Regions from separate parts of the Homo sapiens genome. Here all the other regions are linked to region 4. Evidence: promoter capture Hi-C in 16 types of primary human blood cells and fetal thymus (Javierre and others, 2016). All regions are on one chromosome and are shown on one strand. The core of a region is centred on a gene start or on the middle of the fragment in contact, and the rest is flanking DNA. Distances in the headings are between cores, read along the strand shown. Region 1 overlaps BRCA2 (BRCA2 DNA repair associated). Region 2 overlaps NBEA (neurobeachin). Region 3 overlaps ZAR1L (zygote arrest 1 like). Region 4 holds the start of RFC3 (replication factor C subunit 3). Region 5 holds the start of LOC124903256 (small nucleolar RNA SNORA16B/SNORA16A family). Region 6 has its middle 9.6 kb from the start of N4BP2L2. Region 7 holds the start of PDS5B (PDS5 cohesin associated factor B).

What was found. The method cuts DNA at HindIII sites, captures the fragments that hold promoters and counts their contacts. A CHiCAGO score of 5 or more calls a contact.
Region 1: a contact is called between a fragment that was not itself captured here and the fragment with the promoter of RFC3 in region 4, in 1 of 17 cell types (non-activated CD4 T cells). The highest score is 7.7, in non-activated CD4 T cells.
Region 2: a fragment that was not itself captured here is called in contact with the fragment with the promoter of RFC3 in region 4 in 1 of 17 cell types (M1 macrophages); the score reaches 7.7 in M1 macrophages.
Region 3: a fragment that was not itself captured here is called in contact with the fragment with the promoter of RFC3 in region 4 in 1 of 17 cell types (activated CD4 T cells); the score reaches 5.1 in activated CD4 T cells.
Region 5: a contact is called between a fragment that was not itself captured here and the fragment with the promoter of RFC3 in region 4, in 3 of 17 cell types (naive CD8 T cells, fetal thymus and naive CD4 T cells). The highest score is 8.3, in naive CD8 T cells.
Region 6: a contact is called between a fragment that was not itself captured here and the fragment with the promoter of RFC3 in region 4, in 1 of 17 cell types (non-activated CD4 T cells). The highest score is 6.9, in non-activated CD4 T cells.
Region 7: the fragment with the promoter of PDS5B here is called in contact with the fragment with the promoter of RFC3 in region 4 in 9 of 17 cell types (naive CD8 T cells, total CD8 T cells, naive CD4 T cells and 6 more); the score reaches 18.3 in naive CD8 T cells.

Annotation. Positions count from the first base shown.
Region 1 is chr13:32,322,813-32,326,231 of GRCh38, reverse strand. BRCA2 (BRCA2 DNA repair associated) reads right to left here. Exons shown (of 27, transcript NM_000059.4): 4 at 1,048-1,156; 5 at 82-131. Among named protein-coding and RNA genes, the nearest start is that of BRCA2, 9.0 kb to the right of the region's middle. The HindIII fragment of the contact is 3,977 bases long and covers 1-3,238 here.
Region 2 is chr13:35,126,842-35,130,689 of GRCh38, reverse strand. All of the region lies in intron 17 of NBEA (neurobeachin), which reads right to left. LOC124903232 (a long non-coding RNA gene) reads left to right here. Exons shown (of 2, transcript XR_007063909.1): 2 at 1-3,848. Among named protein-coding and RNA genes, the nearest start is that of NBEA, 190 kb to the right of the region's middle. The HindIII fragment of the contact is 1,604 bases long and covers 1,165-2,768 here.
Region 3 is chr13:32,303,000-32,306,760 of GRCh38, reverse strand. It overlaps ZAR1L (zygote arrest 1 like), which reads left to right. Exons shown (of 6, transcript NM_001136571.2): 6 at 2,739-3,062. The coding sequence ends at 2,882. Among named protein-coding and RNA genes, the nearest start is that of ZAR1L, 10 kb to the left of the region's middle. The HindIII fragment of the contact is 8,321 bases long and covers 1-3,761 here.
Region 4 is chr13:33,816,680-33,820,104 of GRCh38, reverse strand. It overlaps RFC3 (replication factor C subunit 3), which reads right to left and starts at 1,956. Exons shown (of 9, transcript NM_002915.4): 1 at 1,840-1,956. The coding sequence starts at 1,926. The HindIII fragment of the contact is 2,489 bases long and covers 1-2,401 here.
Region 5 is chr13:32,419,391-32,423,065 of GRCh38, reverse strand. The region is part of intron 1 of N4BP2L1 (NEDD4 binding protein 2 like 1); the gene reads left to right. It overlaps LOC124903256 (small nucleolar RNA SNORA16B/SNORA16A family), which reads left to right and starts at 2,550; the gene lies at 2,550-2,676. The HindIII fragment of the contact is 154 bases long and covers 1,838-1,991 here.
Region 6 is chr13:32,546,658-32,550,142 of GRCh38, reverse strand. No RefSeq gene overlaps it. Among named protein-coding and RNA genes, the nearest start is that of N4BP2L2, 9.6 kb to the right of the region's middle. The HindIII fragment of the contact is 2,555 bases long and covers 433-2,987 here.
Region 7 is chr13:32,584,381-32,587,988 of GRCh38, reverse strand. PDS5B (PDS5 cohesin associated factor B) reads right to left here and starts at 1,537. Exons shown (of 35, transcript NM_015032.4): 1 at 1,396-1,537. It overlaps PDS5B-DT (PDS5B divergent transcript), which reads left to right and starts at 1,544. Exons shown (of 3, transcript XR_001749808.1): 1 at 1,544-1,612; 2 at 2,067-2,185; 3 at 2,420-2,971. RefSeq lists an enhancer at 433-492 and silencers at 723-972, 1,393-1,472, 1,483-1,852. The HindIII fragment of the contact is 4,434 bases long and covers 1-3,608 here.

The DNA.
Region 1 (3,419 bases), core at 1-2,500, 1.5 Mb after region 4:
AAAAAGGGGAAAATTGTTAAGTTTTATTTTTATTAACATTTCTAGTATTCTAAGAATAAAAAGCATTGTTTTTAATCATACCTGACTTATCTCTTTGTGGTGTTACATGTGTACATTGTAGAACAACAGGACTAAAATAAAACAAAGCAAATCCCTTAGGTTATTTTAAAAAACTGGCAAAAACTAGTTTATCTTATTTTTAAAAGAAGATTCTCATTCATATAAATTGTTGGAATACTACTTTTAGATATTTTATATTACATTTTAAAAAGTAAATCTCTCATGAAGCATTAAATAATCATCAAGTGATGTTTAAAATGCCAACACATATGTACTCACAAATTTCAGCTGCTGGAAACCGTGTATTTTAAACTCAAAAATTTTGTAAAGTAGGCCGGGCACAGTGGTTCACGCCTGTAATCCCAGCAGTCTGGGAGGCTGAGGCGGGCGGATCACGAGGTCAGGAAATCGAGACCATCCTAGCTAACACGGTGAAACCCCGTCTCTACTAAAAATACAAAAAATTAGCCGGGCATGGTGGCGGGCGCCTGTAGTCCCAGCTACTTGGGAGGCTGAGGCAGGAGAATGGCGTGAACCCGGGAGGCGGAGCTTGCAGTGAGCTGAGATCGCACCACTGCACTACAGCCTGGGTGACAGAGACTCCATCTCAAAAAAAAAAAAAACAAAAAAAAAATTTGTAAAGTAAATCATATTCTCTCCAAAGATGAAAAGTACACAATTTATTTTAAATTGATAATTCAAGGACTGACTTACTGCTTTTCACCACTGTTATTTTTGTTACTTAAAAAATCACAGAATATACAGAAAACCAGCCAATTCAACATCACAAGAACAACAACTTACATGTTTCTAATGTAAAAACTATTCTATTAAAGGACTCAACCTAAAAGATTATTTAAAAATGTAAGATCTTCTACCAGGCTCTTAGCCAAAATATTAGCATAAAAATCAGATTCATCTTTATAGAACAAATATATGTAGGAAAATGTTTCATTTAAATATTTTAATATAATAGCTTCATCATACCTTTCACTAAGACAAGAATTTAGAAGTGGACAGGAAACATCATCTGCTTGATCCATTTTAGTTTTCACTGTGCGAAGACTTTTATGTCTACTATTGGGAACATTCCTTCCTGAAACAGTACAATAATTCAGTGAGAATGTATATACTCTGGATTATAAATTTGCATTCTTTGGAAGTGTTTAAAAACAAAAAGTCTCCTCTATACTGGGAATGAGAATGTATAGGGAGTTGTAAGAAGAGGTTTTTCAGTTTGCTGATTACCCCCCAAAAAGGATGCCCCGAGCACAGTGGCTTATAATTTGAGGGCTCTGGGAGGCTGAGGTGGGAGGATTGCTTGAGGCAGGAGTTCAACACCTGCCTGAGCAACAGAGTGAGACTCTGCCTCTACAAAGAAAACGCTGGTGTGGTGATATGCCTGTAGTCCTAGCTACTTGAGAGGCTGAGGCGGGAGGATCACTTGAGCCCAGGAGCTTGAGCTATGATCATGCCACTGTATTCCAGCCTGGGAAAAGAGCAACATCTTGTCGCTTTAAACAAAAGCAGAAGGAAAGAGAAAAAAGGAGTAAGGGAAGACATTTACTGAAAACCTACCAATGTACCAGATCTGACAATATCACTTGTGCTAAAAACCTTTCAAGATCTTACTTTTCAAGATCAAGTCAAACTCCATAGTATGAAGGCCTTTCACAATTTACTTAATTTCTTCATTTTTAATTTTTGTGGGTACATAAGAAATATATATATTTATGTGACAATTTACTTAATTTTTATGATGCCATTCTTTTACAGTCTACTTTTTACCCATACCCAACCATTTGCATATCCTGAAAGAATGTTTTCTTTAACCTCTAGGACTTTGTACAAGCTGTTTCCCCTTCTTTGCTTTTCTTGACCTGGAACAACTCTTTCAGGCTTCCATTTAGAAACTACCTCCTCCAGAAAACTGTAGTGATCCCTAAGGTAAGATTAAGTGTTTGCCCCCCTATGTGTTCCCTGAAGAGTTTGATCATACACTGTTCTTTTTCCCCCTACTAGGCTGTGAGCAATCTGAGGTAGAGATTTTGTCTTATTTGTCACTGTATCCCTAGCAACTACAAAAATGTCTGGTATATTAGTCACTCCTGAAATATTGACTGGATGAATAAATTGGATATAATTAGACAAAGTGAGTTGCAGACAGTAATACATAATTTCTATTCTTATTGAACACATCCATTTTCTAAGAAAATAATGTTCAGAGTTTCTAAAGCTATAGGTGGCTTTAACAATATGAAATCCAATTTACAGTTTTTCAATATTTCTATTTTCTGTATTAGAGTAGATTATATTTGACTCTCCAGGGCATTAAGTACTCATATGGTTCCAATAGTTGATGGTAACTACAAATTTGGCACCTGAGTCACTTATTATTACTCTTAGAAAATAGTTGCTTCGGTTGGTCCTATAATCTCTAACTTAGCTTTTGGGAAAAATAAGCTCTATCAATGTTACTAAAATAAAGTGAAGACCAAATTTAAAACTGTTTGTAGCAGCCTAAATAAAATGTCTCATTATAGTCTCATTTTTCAAGTTAACATGGACTAGACATAATCACTAATAAAGCAAATGGATGTGTAACTTAAAAACCCCACTTCAACAAAATATCCAACCTCCTTCTCTAATGAGATTTTTAATTAAAGATACTAAAAAGTAGCTAATTCTTGAAAGAAAATTGACTTTAAAAAATAAAACAGGCCGGGCATGATGGCTCACGCCTGTAATCCCAGCACTTTGGGAGGCCGAGGCGAGCGGATCACGAGGTCAGGAGATCAAGACCATCCTGGCTAACACAGTGAAACCCCGTCTCTACTAAAAATACAAAAAAATCAGCCAGGTGTGGTGGCGGGTGCCTGTAGTCCCAGCTACTCAGGAGGCTAAGGCAGGAGAATGGCGTGAACCTGGGAGGCGGAGCTTGCAGTGAGCCAAGATCACGCCACTGCACTCCAGCCTGGGCGACAAAGCGAGATTTCATCTCCAAAAAAAAAAAAAAAAAATTAAATAAAACAAACAATGAGGTACCACTACACACTTGTTAGAATGGCTAGAATTCAAAACACTGACACACCAAATGCTGGTGAGGATGTGAGCAACAAGAACTCTCATTCACTGCTGGTGGGAATACAAAATGCAACAGCTACTTTGGAAGAAAGCTTGTAGTTTCTCATAAAACTAAACATACTCTTACTATATGATCCCACAATCGTGCTCTTTGGTGTGAACCAAAATGAGTTGAAAATATATTCACACACAAACCTGTATGTGAATATTTATACCAGCTTTATTCATAATTGCCAAAATTTGGAAGCAATCAAGATGTCCTTCAATAGATGAAT
Region 2 (3,848 bases), core at 717-3,216, 1.3 Mb before region 4:
AATGGATTTTTTTTTTCAAATTATACTTTTGAGATTTTTTGTAATTGATCTTCTAAGGAAAAAAATATGTTAAAATTTGTAAAATACTCTTCCAAATTTAGTCAATAATAGATTTCTACGACTCACCTACACTAAGTGTATACGCATTTGAAACTTTTACATTCCTAGTGAATTACACCTTTTTCATAACATGGTGGCCCCCTTCATCCTCATTAAATTTTTTGCCTTAAAGTTTATTTTTATATATTTAAATAATGCAATAACAGCTTTTATCATTTAATTTTTAGAATAAGTAATACACTTACCTAGTTAAAAATATATGACATAAAAAAATACATAGAGATTTTACACCCAACTCATCCTTTACATTTCCACATCACTCACAGCTCCCCCATACAAGTGAACACTTTATAATTTCTCATTTCCCTACCACTTTACCCTTCTCTTTTAAATGCACTTTATTTTTAGAGCAGTTTTAGGTTCTCAGTAAAATTGAGCAGAATGTAGGGAGTCCCATATGTCCCTACCCCTACATATACACAGCTTTCCCCACTGTCAACATCCCTCACCAGAGTGGTACATTTGTTATAACTGCCTATTAACTTTTTAAATGCAAATAAAAATATATCATTTGTTCCATTCCTTTAACAGACAGCATTTTTTAAAAGTAAATCATCACTCTATTCATCAGAGATGGCACCTTTATTAGCACTAAAATCACTAAGTATTTGGGTCAATCTATGGACTGCACTTTGCTGTTTATTCACAAATATGTACTATATTGTTTTCTTTACTAAAATATTATATTTCTTTTAATATTATATGGCTAACTTCCCTTTGTTGTTCTCCTTGTCCTTGTTGGGTTCTGGAGTTTCACTTTGTGGTAAGATTTCATACTAATTTTCCCTGATTAGAATTCATTTTACTTCCAAAATCTGAGAAATCAGGTCTTTCATCAATTTTGTAAAACTTTAGTAATTTACTTTGAATATTGCCTCTTCCTCATTCTCTCTTCCCCTTTTCTATAACTCTTATTAGCCATATTTGAAACCTTTCCTTTTTTCCCCCTCTCTTAATGTCATGGTTGTAATCTTGCTTATTGGTGTTGATTTCTAGGTAATTTCTTCAGTTCTATCCCTCAGTTCACCAATTCTTTGTGAAGCTTTGTCTAATCTGTTTAATGTTTCCATATAGGTGTTCATTGTAATTACTACCTTTACATTTTCACAAGTTACTTAGGGTTTTTTTAATTACATGGTTTATTTTTAAATTACCTTGTTTTTAAAGTCTTGTTTCTTTTAGTATGCTTGATTTTCATTTCTGGAATGTGAGAATTTCCCTTACTTTTGTGTGCACACCTATATATTTAATAGGATTTTTGACATATTTTTATCTAACATTTCTAAGTTTTTAGTAGATCAAAGTGTTTCAGGATATCTAGTTTTTACACTCATCACTTTTCTAAGAACTCTTTCTTTTATTATACTTTAAGTTTTAGGGTACATGTACACAACATGCAGGTTTGTTACATATGTATACATATGCCATGTTGGTGTGCTGCACCCATTAACTCATCATTTAACATTAGGTATATCTCCTAATGCTATCCCTCCCCCCTCCCCCCATGTTTAAGGAGAAACATCACACACATTGTTCAATTCCTACCTATGAGTGAGAACATGTGGTGTTTGGTTTTGAACTCTTAATAGCCACATGTGAAGTCTCTTATTTTCTAAGGCTTTATCTTTTCTCTCACTCTCTATTTTTCATCCATGCTTTCAGATCTTCCATTAAGTAGGGTGAAGGGTTAAAAAATCATCAGCTAAAAGAGCAGAATATTATCATTGGTGCTCTATTTGAATCTCAAAATCTCTTTGTATAAATGAAATTCAGATGTTCCACAACAGCCTCCACCATAGTTTTACTTCACTGGGTACACAGTTTGATGATTCTCTCATCCTGCCTCTGGCTAGTAGGCCCCTTTAGATGAGTTGCTATTTTTCACTACCCACAGAGTCAAGGTCAAATCTCATGGCTGTGAATTTTAAATGATGAGATCCCTGCAGGTAGTGTCAGGCAGAGCACCCTTTAAACTTACTGACTTGTAGTATAAAACTTAGCAAGCTATAAGTCCTGCACCATGAGCCCCTGGAGCCAGCATGATAGCACTCCAATCTTCCTACACACCGACCCACAAGTTTAAGGTCAAAAAGATTTATCCCATTTCAGATCTTCTTGGCTTTTTGTGGACTGAAATAGGTGAATTAAAGTTCGTTCTGAAGTCTTAAACTTTAAGTGACTGTCTGTTTCTCCTGTAATTTCTAGTTTATGAATGTTTCTATTTTATCATTATAAAGAATTCTTCTTTATCTAATGGTTATTGCTTTTTGGCTTGTATTCTAATTTGTCCAATACTAAGATCATGGTTCCTACTTTCTGCTTTTTTTTTTTATTATTATACTTTAAGTTTTAGGGTACATGTGCACAATGTGCAGGTTAGTTACGTAGGTATACATGTGCCATGCTGGTGCGCTGCACCCACTAACTCATCATCTCGCATTAGGTGTATCTCCCAATGCCATCCCTCCCCCCTCCCCCCACCCCTTTCTGCTTTCTTTGTACTTATATAATAAAACTTTACTCATCCTTTTACTTTCAACCTTTCAAAACCACTTTGGTTTTTGGGTATGTTTCTTGCATACAGAACTGGGTTTCATTACTGTGATCAATTGTGATATTTTTCTTACAACAGCTGATTTATAAAAGCTTTTACATTTTTTTTTAATGACAGTAAGACTGGTCTTAGATATTTCATATTTTATGTTATGCTTACTGATCTTTACGGATTTTTCAAAGTTCCATTACATACATTGTTCTTAGTTTTATCCATACAGATCTTAAATATTTTGAAAGCTTTATAATTTTATAGAACTGCTTATCTTTTTAACTGTGAAAGAATAAGTAATCCTCCATCTGTTTAAAAAGGGTATTTCCCTACTATGAGAAATGTAAATGTCAGCATATTTACTCTTAATTTTTTCCTTTCATCTACATCATCAAATTTTAGTCAATAGGCCTATATTTGTAATATTTCATCTGTCCACTTACATGGAAATTCTGACTCTTTGCACTTGCTCTACTTTCCTTCTTTTCTCAGTCCCCTCCCAATTCATTACGGTTGTGTCATTTGTACATTATTAGCATATATAAAAAGTAAATTCTGGTCTGTCACAGTAATATGAACATTTATTTTAGTCTTAGTTTTATGGTTAAATTTATTCAGTGCTCACCAGCGGTCCTTAGCAATAGTTTCTCCAGTCATTCCTAGTTGGTTGGACTTTATTCCCCACAATTTCCTCAAGATTTAGTCACAGAAATAATTTGCTGTATGGCTAAAAAATATTTGACAGCATCCTTTTTACTTAAAGGATAGTTTGGCTCCCACTTTCTTCATTTAATTATGATTGTTATAGTTTTTTGTATTGAAGGTTATTTTAGAGTCTAAAGCCAGACTCATTTTTCTCCTTATTTGTGCACTATTATACAAAGTATTCTTCTATTTAAGTCCAGTAATGCACTTTGATGCTAACCATTCTAGGTCAGTTTTCCCTGGCAAACAATATGTCCTCTAAATAAAAATGGCAAAATCTTACATCTAGACTTCACTGAATTATAGATTTAAATATTCGTTTTGTTCCATTATTCTGCTTTTCTTATTTGGGAACTCCATTTATGCCATTATTATTATTTTGGCTTTTTTTTTTTTTTTTGAGATGGAGTCTCCCTCTGCTTCCCAGGCTCTGGAATGCAATGGCACGGTCTCAGCTCATTGCAACCTCCACCTCCCG
Region 3 (3,761 bases), core at 882-3,381, 1.5 Mb after region 4:
CAGGGTTTCTCCATGTTGGCCAGGCTTGTCTCGAACTCCTGACCTCAGGTTATCCACCTGCCTTGGCCTCCCAAAGTATTGGGATTATAGGCGTGAGCCGTCACGCCCAGCCTTGGATATCTTTTTAAGAGATATTTTCGCTGGGTATATATAGAATTTCTAGGTTGGAAATACTTCTTTCTGCCCTTTAAGGATCTGAATTTCATTGTTTCTATGAAACAATATAGCTCTTATTGCATCTCTTTTGAAGTAATCTCTTCTCTTTCCCCTTCGTAAATCTGCTTACTTCTCTCTGCCTTGGTTTTTCAGCAGTTTTACAATGATGTGCCTAGTTGTAGTTTCTTTGTAATTATCCTGCTTGAGCTTCATAGTGTTTCTTGAAACTGCAGCTTAAAGATTTTCATTACTTTTGGGAAATTATCAACTGTTATCTTTTCAAATGTTACTTCTGCTCCTATTCCTTCTTTCTTCCAATTACTCATACTAGACCTTTGCACCATATTTCTTTCTGTCTCTTATGTGCTTATCTATATTTTCCATGCTTTTAGCTCTTCTTGCTTTAGGCTGAATATTATCTACTAAACCATCTTCCATTTGTATTTCTCATCTCAGCTCTTTTTAATCTGTGATTAAAACATCCATTGAACTATTGATTTTATTTGTTGTATTTTTCTGTTCTAGAATTTTTATTGCTTTAGAAGAAAACTTCAATTTTTTGCTGGAAATATTAGTTTTATTTCCTTGAACATATTAGCACTTAGTGATTTTAAAATCTGTGTCAGAGAACTCCATTAACTCAATACCCTGTGAGTCTATTGCTGTCCTCTTGGCTTTCAAGTATGTTGTTCTGTTTCCTCACATACAGTACCTGGTTATTTTTGATTGAGTGCTAGCTATCACATGTGAAAAACTATAGTGAGAGTAAACAGTCCCAGACATCAAGCTCACACCTATTTCTGGGTTTTCATCTCTAATGCTCTGATAATTTCTCAGTGATCCAAACAGTTATTTTTAGCTCAGCTTTTCTAGTCATCCAGGAGGCTTGGTTAGAATTACCTAATCCATCATTTCCAGAAGCAAAAATCAACCTTTAGGGTAAATCCTTATTTTATTGAGCCTTTCTTTGTAAGGGTGTTGTGAGAATTAAATGAATTCATGTATATAAAGTGCTTAAGAGAGTGCTAGGCACATAGTAAACACCATGTGAGTATTACTTGTTAGAATTTTCTTACAAGGGCTGGGTGCAGTGGCTCACGCCTGTAATCCCAGCACTTTGGGAGGCCGAGGCGGGTGGATCACGAGGTCAGGAGATCGATACCACCCTGGCTAACATGGTGAAACCCCATCTCTACTAAAAATACAAAAAATTAGCCGGGTGCAGTGGCAGGCGCCTGTAGTCCCAGCTACTCAGGAGGCTGAGGCAGGAGAATGGCGTGAACCCGGGAGGCGGAGCTTGCAGTGAGCCAAGATAGCGCCACTGCAGTCCAGCCTGGGCAAAAGAGCGAGACTCTGTCTCAAAAAAAGAAAAAAAAAAAGGAATTTTCTCATAAGGAGGCATATTCTTCAACAGAACAGTTTATTAAATAATGTTTAAGACTGCATTTAGCAGAATAAAAATGTCTATTTTCACAATATAGAAAGGTACATCTTGGCCAGGCATGGTGGCTCACTCTTGTAATCCCAGCGCTTTGGGAGGCCAAGGCGGACGGATCACCTCAGGTCAGGAGTTCAAGACCAGTGTGGCCAACATGGTGAAACCCCATCTCTACTAAAAAATACAAAAATTAGCTGGGCATAGTGGCGATTGCCTGTAATTCCAGCTACTCAGGAAGCTGAGGCAGAGACAATTGCTTGAACCCAGGAGACGGAGGTTGCAGTGAGCCAAGATCTCACCACTGCACTCCAGACTGGGCGACAGAGCGAGACTCCATTTCAAAAAAAAAAAAAAAAAGGTAAATCTTGACTTATTCCATGTGGCTATGGGACATGTAGAAAATAGAATGGCAGGGTTGGGGGGATGGAACCAGGGTACTGTACCAGTTTCCATAGGATATTAGTTTTAATTATTGGAAGACAGAAATGAGATAATGGTTGAAAGAAACTATTTTAGATCCTAGTAAAGATTGGGCACATCGAAAAGAAGAAGAAAAGAAACATTTAGTTTCCTCCAGAATACCCTTCTCTCCCAGTTTTAACAACCCAAAATATATTCAGACATTGCCAGATGTCCACTGGGGTTGGAGATGGGGGAGTAAAATCACCCCTGGTTGAGAACATCTGCTCTAGTCTTTTTTAAATGTTCATTTTATTCCTACCCACTGCCACTCACCCTGACCTGCCTACAAATCTAAACATCTGCAGAGTGAAGAAACGCTATAAAACTCTTGACTTATTTTTTTCTCTTACATTATGTTGCCTTGACTGGTTCAGCTACAAATGTAAAAATCTACATAGGGAAGAAATTCTACAAAACTCTTAAATTCCTTTTACATTATGTTGTCTTGATTGGCTCTGCAGTATTCTCTTGAATATCTTCTGTGATCATTCATCTTGAAAAAATATCTGACATTTAATGTGATACAAGTAATTTTGTACAACTTGGTCTTGGCCTTCTCGTAGGACTCAGAGGATGAAGGTTTCAGGGATAGGGTAATAGGGAGAAGTACTGTGATTTGAGGGTTACATTTGAAACACTAAACTGATCATTTAGCGTCCAAACTCTTCTTTGTTTCCTAAAGACCTGCTCAAAGTCTCATTGTTCCTGTCCTCAAAAGAAGAGACACATTGATCTAAGGAGGCCTCATCGACAGGAACTGTGTGGTCGCTGCAAAGACAAGAGATTCTCCTGTGGCAATATTTACAGCTTTAAATATGTGATGTGACTTGTACAGTGTGACTTGTAATGGACCCCTGAGCTCTTCTTGTAACTTACTGTGCTGTCTTCCTTTTTTGCAACTTGGCTCTGACCTGGCATCGGAAAATGGCTAGGCTTTTGTACTTTTTGTAGATTGTGTAACAATTGTACAATGTGAATAGAATAAAATAAATGCATGTGAACTAGACCATGAAGCCACATTAATTGGTGATCCTAGGGTAAAAACATCAATATATGGCATTGGGAAATGGTAGATACTGTCACTTATATGAAGGGGAACAATGAAGAAAAATAGCCATTCTTTTGACAAATTTTTATAAGTCGGACGTTCTAAGCACTGGTTCTAAGCATTATATATAGAGATGATGAAGGGGCAAGGTCCTTCCTCCAAGTATACACAACTATAGCAAATGCAGAAGCAGCCTTTAGCATGTGCCATGCATTGCTATTACTCACTACAGCACCCATATGAAGTAGGAGCTATTATACCTTCTCATAGATGAGGAGATAGAGGCACACAGAGGCCAGAGCAGAGTGCCAGGATTTAAACCAGGTAGAGTAGGACTTGCTCCATGCTTTCACAATTACATTTATACTTCTCAAGTTCAGATTGTGATAAATGCCATGAAGGAAATAGGGTGCTATGATAGAGTAACCTTTTAGACACGTTGGCTGGGAAGAGGTGACATGAGATTGAGACTCGCAGGATGAAGGGAGCAGGGAGAAGATGGTTTTGATCCAAGGGAACAGCAGGAATAAAGGCATTGAGGGGCTGAGGAATAGGAGCCCCCTGGGGCTGATGTGGGACATGAGGCTGCAGAAGACAGGGCTCTGATCACAAAGGATTCTCAAGGCCATGTTTAAGCAAATGACAGCCCATGAGGGG
Region 4 (3,425 bases), core at 707-3,206:
AGCATAAAGTCTTGTAAGGTGAAGTTCTGTAAATAACCATTATTGAAAAAATGGAATACGTATCTTAAGAGAAGCGCTTATTGCAATGAATTTTAATACTTTGTAAACTCATCCATCTCTGTCACTAAAAAGTCCCAAGGAAAAGAACTATTCAATCTAATATACTGCCTGGAAAATGGCAAGTGTCCCACAGACACTTACTGCCTTGTTTTTTCAACTTCAATCTAATCAAAAATAAGGGTTATGCTTTAAATGTTTCATAGTTTGATTAAGCTGCAAATAAAAGAGTAAACAGGTGAACATTTCTTAAAAGCAAATTTAACACATAAGACCATTATATTAAATTCATGTCCAAAATATACATTCCAAATTCTGTACAACAAAATGTGGCCACAGAAAATAAAATGTATTCTATCACTAGGAAAACTGAAGACAAAGCTATTGACGGAAAATGTAATTTGTCTATAAATGATGGATACTGCAGTAATCAATTTATTTTAAATTAGTATACATGCAGTATCAATAAAGAGACCAAAAAAAAACCTTCAATGTCACAACACTATCAACTAGTCTAATGATTTTTACGTGTACAATCTTTTCTTATTATTTCTTATTTTTAAGACGCACTTAATTAAATAGTATCTGTAAATCTAAGAAAGGTCGGAAGGGAAAACCAGGGTATTGGGCAAAAACGTTTCCATCAGCATCATATATTAATTTGAGTTCCTTAAAAGGAGTGGATAAATGTCTTCCACAGACACTTTATTCTCCTAAAGATCCTTCTTTACTCTCTACTCCCTGGAAGATTCAGTTCGTTCTCACAAAATATTGCCATTGGGCACTTTTATCAACTACAACAGACAAAGAGGCATCAGGATAGAGGGGAGAGGATCTTTCACAAAGCTCTAATCTCAGCCACGCACGGTGGCCCACGCCTGTAATCCCAGCACTTTGGGAGGCCGAGGCAGGCGGATCACCTGAGGTCAGGAGTTCGAGACCAGCCTGGCCAACGTGGTGAAACCCCGTCTCTACTGAAAAATACAAAAATTAGCTGTGCGTGGTGGCGGGCGCCTGTAATCCCAGCTACTCGGGAGGCTGAGGCAGGAGAATCGCTTGAACCCGTGAGGCGGAGGTTGCAGTGAGCCGAGACCGCGCCATTGCATTCCAGCCTGGGCGACAACAGCTAAACTCCGTCTCAAAAAAAAAAAAAAAAAAAAAAAAAACTAATCTCAGGAACGTCCTAATACAATTTATTTGAGAATTAGAAACGATCTTTGGAGTAAATACATATTTACAACACTTTACTTGTAAATGACAATGACATCGAGAAATCTTAAGCCAGCTAGAAAGTAAATCACATGGTGTCATCTCCGCTCAAAATGCTCCAACGGCTTCTCGTCTTATTCTGAGACTGACTGGGTCTGCACTCCAACTCCATCCCAACACATACACCCATCTCCGATTACCCTTCCCGCTGGTTCACCACTATCGGCTACGCCGGCCTCCTGAGGTTCTTAGAACATGCCGTGCACATCCCTGCCCGGGAATTTTGCACTTGCTGTCCCCTCTTACCTGTTCCACTCTTTGCTCGGATTTCTGTATTTATGACTTTTCAATTTCCTTCAAGTCTCGGCTCAGATGCCACTTCTCAGTGGAGCTTTTCTTGTTTAAAAATACAAGCCAGCCTCCCACACCTCTTCCCCCTTCCCTGTGTTATTTTTCTCCATAGCACTTATCACCTTCCAATGCGGGCGGGAGAAGCACTGCTCCTCAGGGGGGCGCGAAACCCCGAGCCGGGGGGCCTCCCCTCTCCCACGCTCCCGGCCCCCGCAGACTCACCAGGTTCCGCAGCTGGGCCGCCTGCTCCTTGTGATAGTCCAGCCGTCCCAAGGAGCAGGGCCGATACTTGTCCACCCAGAGGCTCATGGCAGCTCGAGTTCCCGGGGGCCTACGCTTGAAAATCCCGCGCGAGCGCGCGTCCTCCCCACAACGCAGAGACAAGTTTTCCCGCGAGCTCCAAATCTCGTGACGTCACTACCGGTCGCGGCCGCGTAAATGATTTTGGACGGAAAGGCTACGGGGGCCGTGTGCAGACAAAATCAGCTGCCGCGTCGATGCCCTCTAGTTCTGAAGTTCACTGCTTTATTTATTTTCTCTTTGTTCGCACCGTCTATTATATTCTAGAAATTATCAAGCGGAATTGAAAATGTGGTTCTGACCCTTTTGGCGTCACATCCAGATACCTCAGAGAAGACCGTTCCTTTCATTTATTCATTCTTTCATTCACTTAATTCATTCAACAAAAATTTACTAAATATCTGCTAGGTGTGGAACTCTGTCCTCGGCACTAGAATATATACATCTCAGGGTTTCACTCACTTGGCAGGTACCCAGTAAAGCTTCATTGGATGAATCGCTTGAAAATGTCTGATCTTCACTATCCTTTGTTACCTCTATTCCTCAATATTCTTATTGGATTAGAAACAAAAGAATCAAGAGCATGGAAAAACTACCCAAATGTGGTCTGTAGGGGAGAAGACACGAGGTTAATATGCATTCTAAGTCTAGAATATTTGAAAGCCCTCCAATTAAAATGTGTAGAAGCATCTGAACCCCTCAGAAAAATATTCTGCATATGAAGTTGATATGCAACTTTTGAAGTTCTCTTCAAATAGTGCCTCTCAAAATGCACTTTACTCATTGTACATAATATTAATTCCTTATTTAATTTATGCTTTTATTTTATGTATTATTAAGAACCCTAAGTCCTGCCATTTGATTGCAAGGTCTTACAGGCAGGAAATGATTTCCAAATATACTTAATAACCTTTCACCAAGGTGCCTCTTACTCATTTATTAATCAATAATTTATCATGTTCTTCTATGAATCGTCATATTACATGAATTACTCCTGCAGGTAAGGTATTATCCACACCACCAAGTATAAGATTTAATCCCTGTTCTCGAGAAACTTTCTATAATAAGCCTGGAAGGCTTCTGCCTCAGGGCCTTTGCAATTACTGTTTCCTCTTCCTGGACTATGTTTCTCCAGTCAGCAGAGTTGGGTCCCTCATTTCCTTCAGGATGTTGGCTCAAGTATTATCTCCTCACTGAGGCTTCCCTGACCACCCTATTTAATATTGCAAAAAAGCTTCATCTTCTTTATGCTTCTCTCCTTTGGAATTGAAATGGAGGAAGTGTTTGAAATGAGAAGGTAAAGGAAATCAGAAGCAGGGATACTGAATTGTGGTCTATGTGTATATCATAATCATAATGAATGATAATGGAAATAAGTACTGAGAGGAATAAAGAGAAGAACCAAGTGCTAGAATGATCAATAATTTGGCAAGAGTGACCACAGGCATGACAGACAACTTCAATAAGGAGCAGTGGTTGATGGTCTCTACCGTGAAGACATGTCTCTA
Region 5 (3,675 bases), core at 665-3,164, 1.4 Mb after region 4:
TGAGTAGTTGGACCCCAAAGAATACTCTGCTCCACAGTGCTCCTAGCCAGCAGGCCTGGACTGTGGTGTGTTTCTTTATGAGGCCAGGGCTCTCATTAATAAAAGCAAGCTCACAATAGAATGTTTGCAGCATTCCAACTCTGTGAATATAAAAGTGGAGGGTCAGACAGGTGATATATCAAATCTTTAGTCATCTAGGTCTACTTGGAAAATGACTACTAGCTTTTTGTATTTTTCACAATTTTCCTAAGGTGGGTCCTAAATCTCCTCTCCTCACTACCGAGAGTCCTTGTCCTTACCCTCTCTCTGGAGGCTGGGATGAATGAGGACTTAAAAGCTGTATCTGTTTAACAAAGAGTGCAAATATACAGCGTGGTATGTGCTTGTTCTTGCTCATTGGAGAGGCTGTATCAGGAAAGATTGCCCAGCTATACAGGAGATTCACCACAAACACATTCCTGGAGCTGTTGGAACAATGGAAGAAGACCCTGCTGAACTGGGGCAATCCGATATTGCAGGTGTGGATTATGACCCGAGAGGAAGTAGAAATGGATGAAGGAAGGAAGAATAGGGGAAGAATACTTTCAAAGGAAAAGTTCAGGAGATGTATAGGAACTCCCCTGGAGTTCATCTGGTCTGAGCCCAAGACACTGAGAAGCTAAACATCTTGATCAGGGTCAAAGGGATGTGTTCTCCTATTTCTAACAGCTTTTTTTGTGTACCCCAAAAGAAGAGGCCGGAAAGGGGGTGATCTCGTGAAAGGGTAATGAGTTTGGTTTTGATCTGTCGTATAATGAAAAAACAAGAGCCTTATAAGCGGGCTAAGTTAACCTGGATTTCAATTGTCAGGGTAAGGAAGCTACATTTTTTGTTGTCAATATTAATGTTTCTCATAATATAAAAAATATTACTCACCAGGGAATTTATTTTCTTTATTAACGTACCATTGAGGGCAATGGGAGGAAATGAGATTTAGATTTTTAAATACGTTTCCATATTTATCCTGGTTATGATGTGTTGGAGAGAGATGTGGTAGTCAACTTCCAACTCCCAAGCAGGTCTAAAGTCTCTTTCTCATCTGCTCACATGTTAGGATATTTATAAGTCAATGCCTTAGTTCCTTCATGGCAGTTTCATGAACCTTCCCCTACATAATAGCACCCGCCTATGGCCACTCAGTCTCTGGATGAACCCAATAAGAATTTTTTTTTAGTCACGCCAAGTTATCTGAAGATACTGAGGCTCTCTGGGATTAAGGAAATTTTATAATAAAGAAAAATTAGTCTGCCTTCCAACTGTTCCTTCATAAGGCAGATCATATGTATGGCTTGGGGAGAAGGCTGTTTTTATCAAGGTAAGAGTCTGGGAAAGGGGAAGGGAGAAATGGGGAAAGAAAAGCCAGCACATGGTTACTGCTGACTGTCTGCCCGGCCCTTTTTGGACACTGGCTTATTGAATCTTCACAATAACCCTGGGATGTAGTCATTTTTATTTTATAGATGAGGATTTTAGGATTGGAGAGTCACACATTTGAGAGACTCAGGGGATTTCATAATACACCAAGTGATCTTATATTACTAGGGAAGTTCATGGACAAACATACCTACATCCCTTTCACAATTATTGGGGAGTCCTGCTGAAGTATGATTGTATAGCCAGGATTGTCCAGCACTCTTTCCCCACAGATTTTAAGGATATGCTGAAGAAGAAAGAGGGCCTGAAAGGGACTTTCATGCTACCATTTGTTGCCTTGTACCTTGGCTTTCTTTTCTTCTTGGCATTGGTACCACTGACGTATATTTATTTATTATCTATTTCTTTTACTAGAACGTAAGCTTCATGAGATATGATGTAAATTCCATGAGATCAGGAACTTTATTCTGTCCAGCTCCTAAAAGAAGGCCAGGCACATCACAGGCCTTTATTCAACATTTGATGAATGCATTAGTTCATGAAACGCAATGTGAGATGCCTCCTAAGATGTGGAAGCTTGGATGTCAGCATGGCTCTTGAGTAAAGAACGAAACCAAAGGGCAGATTATTCACATAAAGAGAAATGTAAAAGAATGAGGCTGGGCATGGTGGCTCATGCCTGTAATCCCAGCACTTTGGGAGGCTGAGGCGGGTGGAATCACCTGAGGTCAGGAGTTCGAGACCATCCTGGCCAACATGGTGAAACCCCGTCTCTACTAAAAATGCAAAAAATTAGCTGGGCATGGTGGCAGGTGCCTGTAATCCCAGCTACTTGGGAGGCTGAGGCAGGAGAATCACTTGAACCTGGGAGGTGGAAGTTGCAGTGAGCCGAGATTACGCCATTGCACTCCAGCCTGGGCAACAAGAGCAAAACTCGGTCTAAAAAAAATAAAATAAATAAAAAAGAATGAATGGGATATGGAGGACAGACAAGGGGGAAGAAAAGGAAAAAACAGAGCCACTCATTCCAAAGTTCTCAATTCGGTGCATAAGAAAATGATTCCTATTTGTTGCAGGTGAAAATGTTTGATGTGCCGGCTCCTTTACCTCATAGTTACAGTAAGAAGAAATTTAAAAATTGGGATCAAAGATGCAGCCGCCTTCCCATTTAAGCAGCACAGACAGCCCAAAGTGACAGTTTTCCTGTACAGTTACTCTTCTGTTATCTGTAACTGATCTATGACATTTTGGGAAAAAACAGCCAAAAAAAATTAGTACTGAGGTAGGTGTGCCTGATTCCTTCCCCAATTCTGCTCATGACTGAACCAACAGAACACAAACACAGGTGAAACCTGCACAGCTGTGAGAGCCTACAAAAGTTCACATGCAAGATACTTAAAGGAATTTCTGCTCAATAGAGTCTGTGGGACCACACTGACAAACGAGAATGAGGGCTCTCTGGGAGCCTGGCTTTGGACCTCATGAACATGGTCTACTTTGGAGGTATGAGGGGTAAAGGTAAGAGAAGTAGGGCAGACTGGGAACTGTTCCCTGAGTCCCCCTAGCCACTGTGGCTTGGGGACACTTGAGGCTAGCAGTGATTGAGGCTTGGCTCTCCAAGGACAGGACTTGGCCCTGGTGGGGTGGGTGGCAGCACTGCCCAGGTTCGGCCACACCTGGCCTCAGGGGAGGCTGCCCATGTCATCTATAGCTTGGCTCCCTCCCTGCTCTCAGGCTGCTGAGCCATGGAATCTGTTTTCTATCTCCCAGTTTAAAGTCCTCAAGAAGAATGTCAGTAGCATTCAGAGGAAGTGCTGGGATCCAGGAAGAATCCTCTCCGTCAGTCTCCTTTAAGGGTTGTATTAGTCTGTTCTCATTCTACTAATAAAGACATACCCAAAACTGGATAATTTATAAAGGAAAGAGGTTTAATTGACTCACAGTTCAGCATGGCCGGGGAGGCCTCAGGAAACAACTTACAATCGTGGTGGAAGGGGAAGCAAACATGTCCTTCTTCACATGGCGGCAGGAAGGAGAAGTGCTGAGCAAAAGGGGGAAAAGCCTTATGAAACCATCAGATCAGCCGGGCGCAGTGGCTTATGCCTGTAATCCCAGCACTTTGGGAGGCCAAGGCAGGCAGATCACCTGAAGTCAGGAGTTCAAGACCAGCCTAGCCAACATAGTGAAACCCCGTCTGTAAAATACAAAAAAAAAAAAAAAAAAAAAAAAAAAAAAAAAAATTAGCCAAGCATGGTGGCAAGC
Region 6 (3,485 bases), core at 461-2,960, 1.3 Mb after region 4:
CCAGTCCTTTGGTGCTGGGAAGTACATTTCACCATGATTTGATGACCAACTTCTTTGTAGAAATTCCCTCTTCTGATACTTGTGTTGGGCAGAAGTCAAGGACAAATGAGGCCTGCACACCTGACAACCTGGGCCTTCCAGCGGAAACTGACAGGGCTGAGATAATCCTGTGGCCATTGCTGTGGGGGCACTGTAACTGCACAGGAGAAGGGACATTGCTGTGACACTGTCGAAATGTGAAACCTCTGGAATTGTCCTCTTGGTACATTTTGTTTCCCCTATAATTGTTAACAGGAAAATCCATAAAACAAAGACACTTGTGTATTTACCCTTTGGAGCACGGTTCTCTGAGCTGAAAATGGGGTGCACGTTCAGGAAGCCAGCCCAATTTGTGGTGTCCAAGAATGGGCTGGAAGAAAACCGTCATAAGCTTGTCTTTTGATCAAATGAAAATACTTTTCATGTTTACTGATGATTGATAATTTTTCCTGCTTTTAAGATTCTCATTCTCATGACATTTAAGGAAAAGTGTGAAATTCAATTCTTAAGAGTAACTTATAACACATGCCTCAAGGCAAAGCCTCCTTGAACAGTGTTTATCTTCTTTACTGCTAGGAGTTGGAGGCGGCTACACTCTGTCAACCATCCTGTGAAGTAAAATATCAGAAGAGACACCAACATCACTGCCTTAAAGACAGTAGAACCCCAAGATTTCCTGGACTGGGCAGCCTCCTTATCCCCTTATCCAGGAAAGTTAACAGAAAAGACACGTTAAGAGAAGAAAATATTCTCTAATAATCTCTGCAGCAATTTTTTCCCCAATGTTTTCAGCTAAAAAAAATTGTTAAATGTAATCCTTTTTTTTTTTCATTTAGTTTCCTTCAAAGAATTTTCTTTCTATTCAAGTACTTGAAAATATCTATTTTTCTATTACTGGATCTCCCTATCACTATGACTTTGTAAAAAAAATTGGGTAAAATACACATAAAAATGTTAACATCTTGATCATTTTTAAGTATACAGTTCAGTAGTGTTAAATACATTTCACATTGTTGTGCAACCAATCTCCAGAATTTTTATCTTGTGAAGTTGAAATTCTGTACGTATTAGGTAACAACTTCCCATTTCCTCCTTCCCGCAGTCCCTGGCAACTACCATTCTACTTTCTGTTTCTATAAGTTAGGCTATTTTAGGCAGCATTTGTCTTTTTGTGACTGGCTTATTTTACTACAATGCCTTCAAGGTTCATCCATATTGTGGCATGTGATAAGATTTCCTTCCTTTTAATTTAATTTTTGATATAAGGTCTCACTCCATTCCCCAGCCTGGTCTCCAACTCCTGGGCTCAAGTGATCCTTGTGCCACAACCTCCCAAAGTGCTAAGATTTCAGCATGAGCCACAGCGTCTGGCCTCCTTCCTTTTTAAGGCTGAGTAATATTCCATTGCATGTTAATAGCACGTTAGGTTTACACATTCATCTGCCAATGTGTCCTAGGGTTATTTCTACCTTTTGTCTATTGAGAATAATACTGCTATAAATGTGGGTGTTCAGATATCTCTGTGAGACCCTGTTTTCTACTCTTTTGGGTATATACCCAGAAGCGGAATTGGATCACATAGTAACTCTATGTTTCATTTTTTTGATGATGCACCATGCTATTTCCCACAGTAACTGCACCATTTCACATTCCCACCAATAATACACAAGGGTTCCAATTTCTCTACATCCTCACCAACACTTGTTATTTTCTGGGTTTTTTAAAAATTTTATTTTGATAGCAGCCATCCTAATGGGTGTGAGGTGATATCTCATTATAGTTGTGATGTCTGCTGAGCATCTTTCCATGTTCTTATTGGCCATTTGTATACCTTATTTGGAGAAATGTCTACTCAAGACCTTGCCCATATAAAGACATACAAAGACCATGGGCAAGTATGACGACATAGTCAAGACCTTGTGCATTTGGAGATATTTCTCCAAAGAAACTATACAAAATTATATATATATATATATATATATATATTTTTTTTTTTTTTTTTTTTTTTTTTTTTTTTTTTTTTTTCCTGTCATCCAGGCTGGAATCCAGTGGCATGAGCTCAGCTCACTGCAGCCTCTACCACCCAGGCTCAAGCAAATCCTCCTACATCCCACCTCAGCCTCCCAAGTAGCTGGGACTACAGGCACGCACCACCACACCCTGCTAATTTTATTTTACTTTTTTTGTAGAGACAAAGTGTCTAAGTTTCACTATGTTGCCCAGGCTGGTCTCAGACTCCTGGGCTCAAGAGATCCTCCTGCCTTCCCTCTGAAAGTGCTGGGATTACAGGTGTGAACCACCACGCCCAGAGTTGTCCATGTCTTAATCAAATTGTTTGTGTTGTTGTTCTGTTGCTATTGCTGAGTTGTAGCAGTTCTTTATACATTCTAAATATTAACCCTTTACCAGATATATGATTTGCAAATATTTCTTCCCAAATTTCCATGGGTTGCCCTTTCACTCCGTTGATTGTCCTTCAATACACAGAAGTTTTAAATTTTGATGTAGCCTAAGTTACCTATTTTTTTTCTTTTTCTTTTTCTTTTTCTTTTTGAGACGGGTCTCACTCTGTCACCCAATCAGGAGCGCAAAACAGGGTCTCATTCTGTTGCCCAGACAGGAGTGCAGTGGCACGATCTCAGCTCACTGCAAACTCTGCCTCCCAGTTTCAAGCGATTCTTGTGCGTCAGCCTCTCAAGTAGCTGGGACTATAGGCGCCCACCACCATGCCTGGCTAATTTTTGTATTTTTAGTAGAGATGGAGTTTCACCATGTTACCCAGGCTGGTCTTGAGCTCCTGAACTCAGGTGATCCACCCACCTTGGCCTCCCAAAGTGCTGGGATTACAGGTGTGAGCCACTGTGACCAGCCCCTGTTTTTTTCTTTTGTTGACTGTGCTTTTAGTGTCATATCTATGAAATCATTGGCAAAACCAACATTATGAAGCTTTTCACCCAAATTTTCTAAGATTTTTGTAATTTTAGGTCTGATACTTAGGTCTTTGATCTATCATTTTTTTATTGTGGTGAAATAAACATAACATCATATTTATCATTTTAACCAGCTGTAAAAGTGTAATTCAGCTGTTGCTATCACTTTTTAACTCTTGGGATCTCATCCTTGGGGGAATAAATTATAAAGTTTTGGTTGTCTGTCATCTAAGCAATGATAAAATCAATCATCTATCAAATGTGAACAGGTTATGCCTTTTAGGATGGTAAGGCCATGACACCTCAGATAAAGCAAAGCAGCCAAGAGCACAGACAGATAGCCCTAAAATCTTCTGCCAAAGCCCCATCTCTCTTCGTTATTTTTATTGTGAGCTGACCACGCAAATTTATTAACCCAATTCTTATGATTATTTTTTGATAGACAACAGTTGCCTTCAGTTGTTAGAATCAAGTAAAAAAACCTTCTCCCGGCAACTTTGAGAGCAAGTTTCTGTC
Region 7 (3,608 bases), core at 288-2,787, 1.2 Mb after region 4:
AAGCATTGGGTAATTACGATTTATTTACAGCTCGCCTCCTGTATGTAAACACAACTTGAGTTTTTGAAGTTCATTAGGAAGATAGTATAGGATTACCCAACTCTCTCCACACCGCAGACCAACCCTCTAAATTAAGGCTATACCCAAAGTTTTCGAAACTATTTCATCAACAGGGTAGGATCAGTCTGGGCACCACTGCCCATCCATCACCTCTTATTAAAAGTACGAGAAGCACTTTCTTCGACATAAAAAAGGGTTAACCCTCGCTGGGGGAGAGAGGCTGTTGAAGACGCGCGTGGAGTGGGTGGGTAGCTGCTCTACCAACCCTTCCCGGAGCTCGCCCCGTCCGCGGCAAGGAACGCAGCAGCCTGCAGCTCCGAAGGCGAGGGGCGGCGTTTCTGGTTTCAGTCATTCGTCCAAAATAACTGTCGAGCTACTTAAGAGTTAGCTTTCACGTCTCTACCAAAAACCAACAGCAGTAGCAGCAACAACAACAAACAAGGTTTTTCTCCGGACCGAAAACTTTTAAAGTAACATTAAAATAACAGTGTAAAAACAATAACGAGTCACAATTGCACACCATTTTCCCCGCCGTTCCTTCTGAAAGGAAAGCTAGAACCCAGTTGTGGCCTGGGAGGAGTCCCTCCACGCCAGTGCTGGGCTCTTCCTCAACTGGCTGCTCGGGGACCACTCGGGGTGGCGCGGTGAGCGCGATTTCCCTCCGGCGAGCGGCGAGGGACAGTGCAAAAATGTCACGCTCAGCCCGTCCCCTGGCCCGAAGCGGAGGCCAGGCGGCGCGCGGGGACCCGGCGGCGGGGGCGAGAGCGCCCGCGGCCCCGACCCGCGGTCCCCGCCCGCCCCTCGCCCGGAAGGGGGAGAAGCCCGCCCGCGGGAGGATTCAACAGGAGCACCGCGCCGCCCGCCTGCCGCCCGGGAAACAGCCGCCGGCCGGCCGGGGCGCGGGGGGAGGGGCGCGGCGGCGGCGACGGCGGCGGCGGGAGGGCGCGGGCGGCCGGGCGGCCCCGAGACCCCCGCCCGCGCGCAAGGTCACCGCCCGCCGCCGCCGCCGCCCCGGCCGGGATCAGAGCGGCAAGTTTAATTTTCCAGAGGCTGCGGCAGAACCCGCGGCGTGGAGGCGCGCGCCGGCCGCGGGGCCCTCCCCACCCCCACCGCGCAGCCGGCCCGCGCCCCGCGACCCCCGCCCCGGGCCACCGCCAGGCAGCCACCCGCTGCAGCCCCCGATGCCGGGAGGCGAGTCGCGCCTGGCACCCAGGCGGGCGGCGCTTCAGCCCTGCCACACACACGCACACAGCGGCAGTGGCGGCCGCTGAAAAATGGAGCGCCGCAGCCAGAGAAGAGAGACATTTTCTTTCCGTTAACTGAATTGTTTCCTACCTCCGGGTTGCCGACTCGCTACTCCGCTCACTCCGGGGCTCTCCGGGATCCGCCGCCGCCGCCGCATCCAATCGCCTTCTCCCCCCCCCTCCCCTTCCGCAGCCAGCCCTGCCGTTCCTCCTCCTCTCCGCTTCAAAATGGCGCCAAGCGCTCTTCGGCGGCTGCTCCAATCGAACCGCCGCGGACAGCACCCGGGGGCAGGCAGAGCGCGGCATGGGTGCGCAGCGCCCCCTGCCGACCAGACGGCCCCGAGCGCGTCCGCCCTCCGAGCTCCACCCCGCCCCGTCCGCGCGCGCGCACGTCCCTCCTCAGCCCCGCCCCGTCCGCGCGCACGCAACCACACGGGCACGCCGCCGCGGGGCCCGCGAGAAGGGCAGCTGTCAAGGCGTCCACTACTCTTGCGGCTTCCTAGACCTCTACCGACAAAAACCACACCGATTGTTACGTAGCCCTATCTTTTTAGATAAAGGTTGGGAGATTTTTTTAAACCCTGACATTCAGCACAGGTGTTGTGATGGGTAAACAGAATTGGTATTATTAACTACTTTGCTCCTTACTTGTTAACTCTGACCTAGTCGTCTCGGAATGCCATACAAATAGTTTTCCTACACTTTACGTGTTATGTCTTTATTAAATCTCCCCGCTTTCCTAATTTGAGGAATTGTTTATAGGTGGTAGGCTGGCGGAGACAGAGTAATTGAGCCTGTGACGAAGCATTCCATTCCTTTGGCAGAATTGTCCTTATTAGAGGAAGAAATCATCTGGAGACCACAGGGACACATTCCAGGAGGTGGGTCTCCTCCCCTCTTCACCTCTAAGGGATGCCAGTCCCTCCTGCAGCTGTAGAGTGGGTTTAGCCTGGTCACCACAGCAGATCACCTACCTTGCGGGAAGGTTTCCTCCCCAGCCGGGTCCCTGCCAGAGCTGAAGAAGGGACTTCCTCCTCTTTTTACTTTAATACCATCCCTGCTGTAAGGAAGTTTCCCCTGATATGATGTATTTGGTTACTAGAATTTTGTTCCAGGGAGAATTTGTTTCAACAATGAACAAGCAAAGTGTGAATGAATGGATTACAGTAGGATACTTATCAACTGAAACAAAAGAGAGGTAATGCTGATATATAAACTAATGCTACTGTGTTAGAAAAGGTATGTACATCGGTATTCCATCGGACCCGGGCACCTAGAGATACTGAGACCTCTTCATTTCCATTTTTGTGGGATTCGCTGGACAATTCCGCCTCAGTCTCCTCCAGTGCTTGCTAGACCAATATGTTGTGTTACTGTATTCCTGTGTCCAAGATTTTGCCACTGAATACTCCAGGTTCTACCCATTTTATACATTCCTCGATGAAGTCTACTATGAGTTTTTTCTGCCCTCTTTTTAAAATTATCTCAGGAATTTTCTTATTTTACATCGTTGTTCCATCAACATAAATCTTGTATGGGAGAGTAGGATGTCTAGATCTAGAAAAACCTTTCCTCTTTGGTTGTTTTTATTATGTTTTTTACTTTATTTTCTTCAATTCCCAAACCTCCAAAGCCAGGAAGCCAGAAAGTTTCAGAAGAAAGCCAGGATGAAAGCAAGAATTTTTTTTTCTTTTTTCTTTCTTTTTTTTTTTTTTTTTTTTGAGATGGAGTCTTGATCTGTCGCCAAGCTGGAGTGCAGTGGCGCGATCTTGGCTCGCTGCAACCTCCCTCTTGAGTTCACGCAATTCCCCTGCCTCAGCCTCCCAAGCAGCTGGGACTACAGGCACACACCACCACTCTCAGCTAATTTTTTGTAATTCTTAGTAGAGACAGAGTTTCACCATGTTGGCCAGGATGGTCTCGATCTCCTGACCTCGTGATCTGCCTGCCTCAGCCTCCCAAAGTGCTAGGATTACAGGCGTGAGCCACCATGCCCGGCTAAGAGTTTTTGTATAAATTATTCAGTGCTCTTATCCCCATTATTTGACACCTGGAAGCCTCAGTAAATATTTTGTTGGATGTATGAATTGTTTAAGAATGTCACTCTACATCTTGTATATGGCAGTGAGTCCTGAAAGGGCTGAAGGTGTCACGTCAACTTTGTGAGCAGTTTTGCCAGTTTCACCATTAACCCTCTCTCTTATAAAATGATGCCTTGAATTTCAATGAGGCCCGGAATACATATTGCCCACGTTAGGCTGCTAACACCACAGGATTAAGCCCAAGAAAAGAGTGGGCAGAAAG